Regions from separate parts of the Homo sapiens genome. Here region 1 is linked to region 2. Evidence: promoter capture Hi-C in human tissues and cell types (Jung and others, 2019). All regions are on one chromosome and are shown on one strand. The core of a region is centred on a gene start or on the middle of the fragment in contact, and the rest is flanking DNA. Distances in the headings are between cores, read along the strand shown. Region 1 overlaps DNAI3 (dynein axonemal intermediate chain 3). Region 2 holds the start of SYDE2 (synapse defective Rho GTPase homolog 2).

What was found. Contacts are between HindIII fragments. The study calls those that stand out against the background at their distance.
Region 1: a fragment that was not itself captured here is called in contact with the fragment with the promoter of SYDE2 in region 2 in 2 of the 25 tissues and cell types used here (neural progenitor cells and thymus).

The regions. Positions count from the first base shown.
Region 1 is chr1:85,090,349-85,093,471 of GRCh38, reverse strand. It overlaps DNAI3 (dynein axonemal intermediate chain 3), which reads right to left. Exons shown (of 23, transcript NM_145172.5): 9 at 1-14. Among named protein-coding and RNA genes, the nearest start is that of DNAI3, 30 kb to the right of the region's middle. The HindIII fragment of the contact is 5,308 bases long and covers 1-3,123 here.
Region 2 is chr1:85,199,203-85,202,443 of GRCh38, reverse strand. SYDE2 (synapse defective Rho GTPase homolog 2) reads left to right here and starts at 1,428. Exons shown (of 7, transcript NM_032184.2): 1 at 1,428-2,192. The coding sequence starts at 1,448. LOC124904207 (a long non-coding RNA gene) reads left to right here and starts at 2,202. Exons shown (of 2, transcript XR_007066199.1): 1 at 2,202-2,293; 2 at 2,405-3,241. RefSeq lists a silencer at 540-1,689 and an enhancer at 1,702-2,313. The HindIII fragment of the contact is 20,475 bases long and covers 1-3,241 here.

The DNA of each region.
Region 1 (3,123 bases), core at 271-2,770, 110 kb after region 2:
GGGCTATTTCAACACTAATTTGTAAAAATAAAAAAAGCAATTAAGATATTGGTTTTTAGTATCCAATAATGTGACTATCTTAGCAACTCCTCCTCCTTCATTTATACTGAACAAAAAATAATAATTCTCAATTATATTTGGTGATAATGATTAACCTCATGTGAAATAAATGACTTAAGAGAAAAAAACATCATGGTGGCATGTTACTCAGAACCTCGAGCAACTTCATGATCTGCCTCAGTTTCCAAGCCAAGGCTGTACTCTCTCCAGGCCAATGCCTGAGCATGCAGCTGCAGGGATGGCTGGGCCTGGCCAGTCCTCCTTGTGCAGCACTCCCACAGCAGGCATCTTTGCTCTGGAGCTCCTGCTGAGTAGGCTGAGAATTTGTCTGATGCTCTACCTTCCCGGTCCTGTCTCCTCCTCCTTTATTTTTCACAGTGTAATCCTCAGTAAACGTCTGCCTCTAACTTGATGTCATTTGCTTCCTGGAAAGCCCCAACTGTCACAAATGGCAGTTTTCTTAGGCATATTCTGTACTAAATGATCACTTATCCTTAACAGGATAGCCCCAATACATATGTAATTCAAAACAACAAATAAGAGATTCTGAACAAGGGAAGAATTGGAGTTTAGAAGTGTGTGTGTGTGTGTGTGTGTGTGTGTGTGTGTGTGTGTGTAGTTTTAGTTGTCACAATGCCTGGGAGGTGCTACTGTGTTTAATTCCATTACCAAACCTCCTGCAATGCATGAGACAGTCCCCAAAATGAAAAATTATCCTGCTAAAAATACTAACATTGCTCCTTTAAGATACCATCTGAGTGCTAGGATCATTTGCTAATAGTCTAGGGACCTTGGTTTGACAGGCTCCTGTCTTAAAGTAGTTACTATGATAGTTATTGTCCCTTTTTATGCTTAGATCTGAAAGCTCTGCATACTCCCAAAGTTGCTAAGAGCCCTCCCACAATTAGAATGCCACCCAAGGTTTTACCCTACTGATCAAAACTGTAAACTTCTTGGTTTTATATAGGTGTGGTAAGTTGAAAAAGTGGTTCTCAATTGTGAATTTCTTAAAATAAGAAAAAATCCTTTAGATAGTTCAATATAAACAGTAAAAACAGATACTCCTAAAATATAAAAAAGGGCACCGTTTGATACCCCTGTCATTGATCATTACACTACCAGTCATTGCCTAATTGAGTCCTCCCTTGGTTAAATTCTTCTTGTATTTCATCTTTCAAAATAGACCCCTTTCCTAAGACCTGGCCACTTAAAGTGTGATCCAGTGACCACCAACATGACCTGGGGCTGTTAGAAATGCAGAGTCGCAGGCTCCACCCGACTTACTGAGTCAGAACCTGCATTTTAACAAGAGTCCTCAGGTGATTCATAAGCACACTGAACATTGAATAACCCTGTGTAGCGGACTCTCGAGGCTTAAACAGTTTCCAGTAGAAGCATTAGTAAGCATTTTCCAAATCATATTTCTTTCTGGTTAAGCCCAAATGAGAAGGGAATTCTCAAGAGAAAAGTTAAAGACGTGGCTTCCGCTCTGGTTTCCTGATTCTACCTCCTTAGCCAGAACGGGGAAGTAATTCAAACGGAAGAAGTGAAAACACATCTTTCTTCTGGTTTCCGGTTTCTTGCTTTCCTGGAACCATGTAGCTCCCGAGAGTAACAAATTGGAGGCTAGCAAAACTGTTGTCTAGGAATTTTAACCCCGAAAGGAAGGTTTCTTAGTTGTTTTGTGAATCCCCCTGAAGTTCCTCTCTCTCATCTCATGTCATTGCCTTCTTTTGCAAATAATGCTTCCCTTAAGTTTGTTTTAGATAAAATTCTATGAGAAAGAAATTTCCCATTTCTAAAAGGGCTTTCTTCCAGAACAAAATCAGGCTTACCTTAATTAAAAACTATTGAATAAAGCTTAAGCAGTTTTAAAGCTGGAAGTTATGTTTGCAGTGATATAAACATGGGTTTCTTATCCACTCTGGGCCAGTGCTATTATAATTCCTGTGCCAATTTTCCTCTTTCTTCTTATAGATCTGGCTTCTCCTTCCCACATCTCAGGGATGGAATCATAAAGCTGTCCACTATTCTTTTCTTTATAAGCATGGAAATTCAGAGGGAAGAATAAAAGCCCAGGTCTAAAGATAATATACAATGTGGATTTATTTTGAACATTTTTTTATTCCCTCAAGATCTAGTTTTCTCTGGATATTGATTATATGTAAACAAACTTCTCATTTTGAATATTCTTACAGGAAAAATTGTAATGACTACTAAATTTTGATAAGGGGAGGGTGAAACTCAGGTTTTCTTGTTTCTATCTCATTGCCCGTATAGCAAAAATTATAGCATCCTTCCTGCGAGTGGCAAATAATGTTCTCTCTGAATCATTAACTGAATTTTTGAGCCAGAGTCTCCCTAGGCATAAGTAACAAGTTTGAGAGTTGTTGGAATTTTTAGGATATTTAATCCAGTATGAAAGAACCAACGACATTTCTTAAAAATAAAAAAGTTTAACTTGGGCTATATATGAACTTGACCACCAAGTTTTTAATTTTAGAAAGAAATAGAAACCAGCCTATTGAGTATAACTGGCAGACTTGTCCTCCAGTGGATCCACTTCTCTAAACTCTAGTATCAGCTTGGTGAGAACTTGTCAAGCTGTTTCTCTGGTTTAGAAGCCCCAGAACTCTACCCAGGGTCCTACTAACAGCTTAGGGGGCATTTTGAAGATGCTTCTCTTTCAAAGCCAGTAAGAGTGCAGGAACACAGGAATTGGTGATAAGAGTGAAATGTCCAAAAAGACATTTGAATTAAATTCAGGTTCTCATCTACAAAGATATTTTTGCAAATACTTATCATCATAATAATGGCCACAGCATTCTCCTCATCCTATAAAAAGTTAATGAGGAAGAGGAGTGAGGAGTGGAGAAAAAGAATTACGTAAAAGTAACCATGGTAAATACAAGTAAATGTTAATCTGCAATTAGGAAAACATCCTCACACACTCAACTCCTCACACAGTTTGATGTGGCCTTAGCTTGATAGGGCTAAGATGTTGCTTAGCAATAGAAAGGAAATAAATATTGAGAATCTGTAGAATGTGTCACACTGACAACT
Region 2 (3,241 bases), core at 179-2,678:
GGTAGGGTGATGAGGGACATAATATTTGTGGCTCCATTTTACAAGTTTTGGCTGATGTAATAATTTTGTTAGCATGCATTAACTGAAATAAAGAAGGAAAAACAGACTTAAAAGAGACATCGGTGGGTGGGTTTTGTTTTGTTTTTGATAAAAGAACTCTTATAGAAAAGGAATCGCTGCAAATTTCTTTTAGCTAGCTAGCTCTCTGGGCGATTAAAATGATTGATACATTTCTAGAACACATGCACCGAGATACACCTGCACTCGTACTTTGTCCGTCAAAACAATCTTTGTTTTCTCTCAAGCTAGGACTTGCTGTGCCTAAGACACACCTCGTGCAGCGGTGGCGGTGAAGGTGCTGGGGTGACAGCCAGGAGGGCACTTTCCCTTTCTCGGGCTCCCTAACCAAAACTTTGCAGCCACCAGCCCAAACTCACGTTCCTGCTCGTTCTTCTTTCCCCTGCCTCAACTCTCCCCGCACCCTTCGCGCTCTGTGCGCCCACCCCTGCTTCCGTCGGTCAGCTTCAGCCGACCTACTACTCAACCTACCGGCCCGCGCCCTCCGCCTCCACCTGCACCACTCGCCCACCCCGAGAACCCACCTCTGCCGCCCCCGGCCCGCGCGCCCCGTCGCGGCCCGGGGCTCCGGGGCATGCGCGTTGCGGCGCCACCGCCCTCCCCCACGCCTTCCCGCGGCAGAGTTATGCCAAGTATGTGAGGAGCCGGCGAGGGCCAGCGCCGGTCATGGGGAGCCGCCGCCGCCTCCGCCTCCGCCTCCGCGAGCGCGGTTTTCTCCCCAGCGGGGCTCCGACCTCTCCCCCTGGCGGGGGTGAGCCTCGCGGCTAAGGCAGAGGGGATGGCGGACCCTCTGAGGAGGACGCTGTCCAGGCTCCGGGGAAGGCGGGGTCCCCGCGGCACCGGGGGGCTAGGGCTCCGGGCGGCAGCCGCAGCTGCGGTGGCGGCCTCTTCGGCAGCCGCGGGAGACGCCTGGGGTGCCGCAGACACCCTCCCACGTGAGCACGCCGGGGGACACGGGCGGAGCCTACAGCAGCCCTCGCCGTCACCTGAGGCGTGGGGTCCCGGGGCGCGGGTCCCCGGAGGGCACCCGGAGCAGTTGGGGGCGCTCGGGCCTCGGCCGCGCGGCGGGCAGGAGGCCGCCCCCCAGAGCCATGGGCTCGCTCACGCCCCTCCGCACTCCCCGGAGGGCTCCGAGGACAGCGGAGAGGAGGAGGAAGACGACAAGGACGAAGACGACTACGACGCCGACTACTACGAAAACCTGCCCGGCGGCTCGCAGTCTGCGCCCGAGCCTGAGGGGGCGGAGGCGGAACGGCGTCCCCCGCCTCCCCCAGCGGCGGGCTCCTCCCTGGGGGCGGAGGGCGGCCGCCTGGAGACAGGCAGGCTGCGGACCCAGTTGCGAGAGGCCTATTATCTGCTGATCCAGGCCATGCACGACCTGCCCCCTGACTCGGGCGCGCGGCGGGGCGGCAGGGGCTTGGCGGATCACAGCTTCCCCGCGGGAGCCCGGGCTCCGGGCCAGCCGCCTTCCCGCGGCGCCGCGTACCGCCGAGCCTGCCCCCGGGACGGGGAGCGGGGAGGCGGCGGACGCCCTCGGCAGCAGGTGTCCCCGCCCCGGTCGCCTCAGAGGGAGCCGCGGGGAGGCCAGCTGCGGACTCCTCGGATGCGGCCGTCCTGCAGCAGAAGCCTCGAGAGCCTCCGGGTGGGTGCCAAGCCGCCTCCCTTCCAGCGGTGGCCGAGCGACAGCTGGATCAGGTGCGGCGCGCACCGGGACTGGGACGAGCCCCCGCCACGTGGAGGCAGGATGGACGGCTGGAGTGGGGACCGCGCCCGGGCGGCTGCACCCACCGGCCTCCAGCCTCCAGGCTGCAAGGACCACGGCTGCTCCTCGGGAAGCCCTTTCAGGGATCCAGCGGGGTCCTCTGTGATACGCAGTGGCAAAGGAGACCGCCAGGAAGGCCCCTCCTTCCTCAGGCCGCCGGCAGTGACAGTCAAGAAGCTGCAGAAGTGGATGTACAAAGGGCGTCTGCTGTCCCTGGGAATGAAGGGTCGTGCCCGTGGGACGGCTCCCAAAGTCACAGGAACGCAGGCAGCCTCCCCAAATGTGGGCGCTTTGAAAGTGCGTGAAAACCGTGTCCTGTCGGTGCCTCCAGACCAAAGAATTACGCTGACAGGTAGGATACTTTGCGATGAAAATGCTAGCACCGCGAGCCTTACTGTTTACCGACTGGGCTTCTGTCTTAAGAGCCAAGAAAAAGTTATGTTTTTGCGACAGGTACGTTACCGGGCGAAAGTAAGTGTCATGTAAGTGGCAGCTTAAAGTAATTTCGGGGTTACTTAATGTAATGCATTTACTCGTTTTGCTTTTTTTTTTCTTTTTAATCAGACAATGGCATGAAGAATTGAGGTTGTGATTTCTTCTCGAAAAACCAGTGTGTCTATTCCCTAAGTATTACCTAAAGGAGTAAAGGTTAAGTATAACACACTTTTAGTAGGTTTACAGATGGGCGGCACTGTCTTGATTTTTATTCTTTGTAGCTCTAGGCAAATCCGTAGACTTTTGTGGAGTTTGTAAATTTGAATTTGATTCAAGGTAGATTTTATAGGCTTCATAAACTGTCATTTTACTCATTACAACTTTTTTTTTTTGCCTCTCCCAGGCACGCACACACATGCATACATACACACAACCAAAAACCCAAACAAATCAAACAAAAAAAACCCTACCATAAGTAGAATTTTTTAGTCAGGTAGTATTTCACATACACCATCTCTCCACCTGCCTCCCCCCGACAAAGAAACCTCAACAAAGTAATCTTTTTATTGTGAAAAATCAAGGACACTAACATTTTAATCAAAAGAAAAATGTTCCTCAGGTAGTTTTGTTTTTAAAGCAGTCATTTGCAAACTTAAATCCTATTTATAAGAGAAGTAAATTAGTTTTTTAAAAAGTATATTGATCCTTATAATAGGATTAAGCTCCCTATTTTGTATGTGCATGATTTTTAACTATCACTGAAGGTTTAGGTTATCAATTCTAGAAACCAGTCAATTATGTTGTAAATATCAAAATATCTTTCCTGAAAGGAGTATAATATCTTCAAAGTGAGCCAAAACAACATGGTCTTTTGAATACTCTTACATATAAAAATTTTTAGTGATCATAAAGACTTATAAGTCAGGAATAATTTGGAAAACATTAAATCCTGAAATGTAAAAGGTA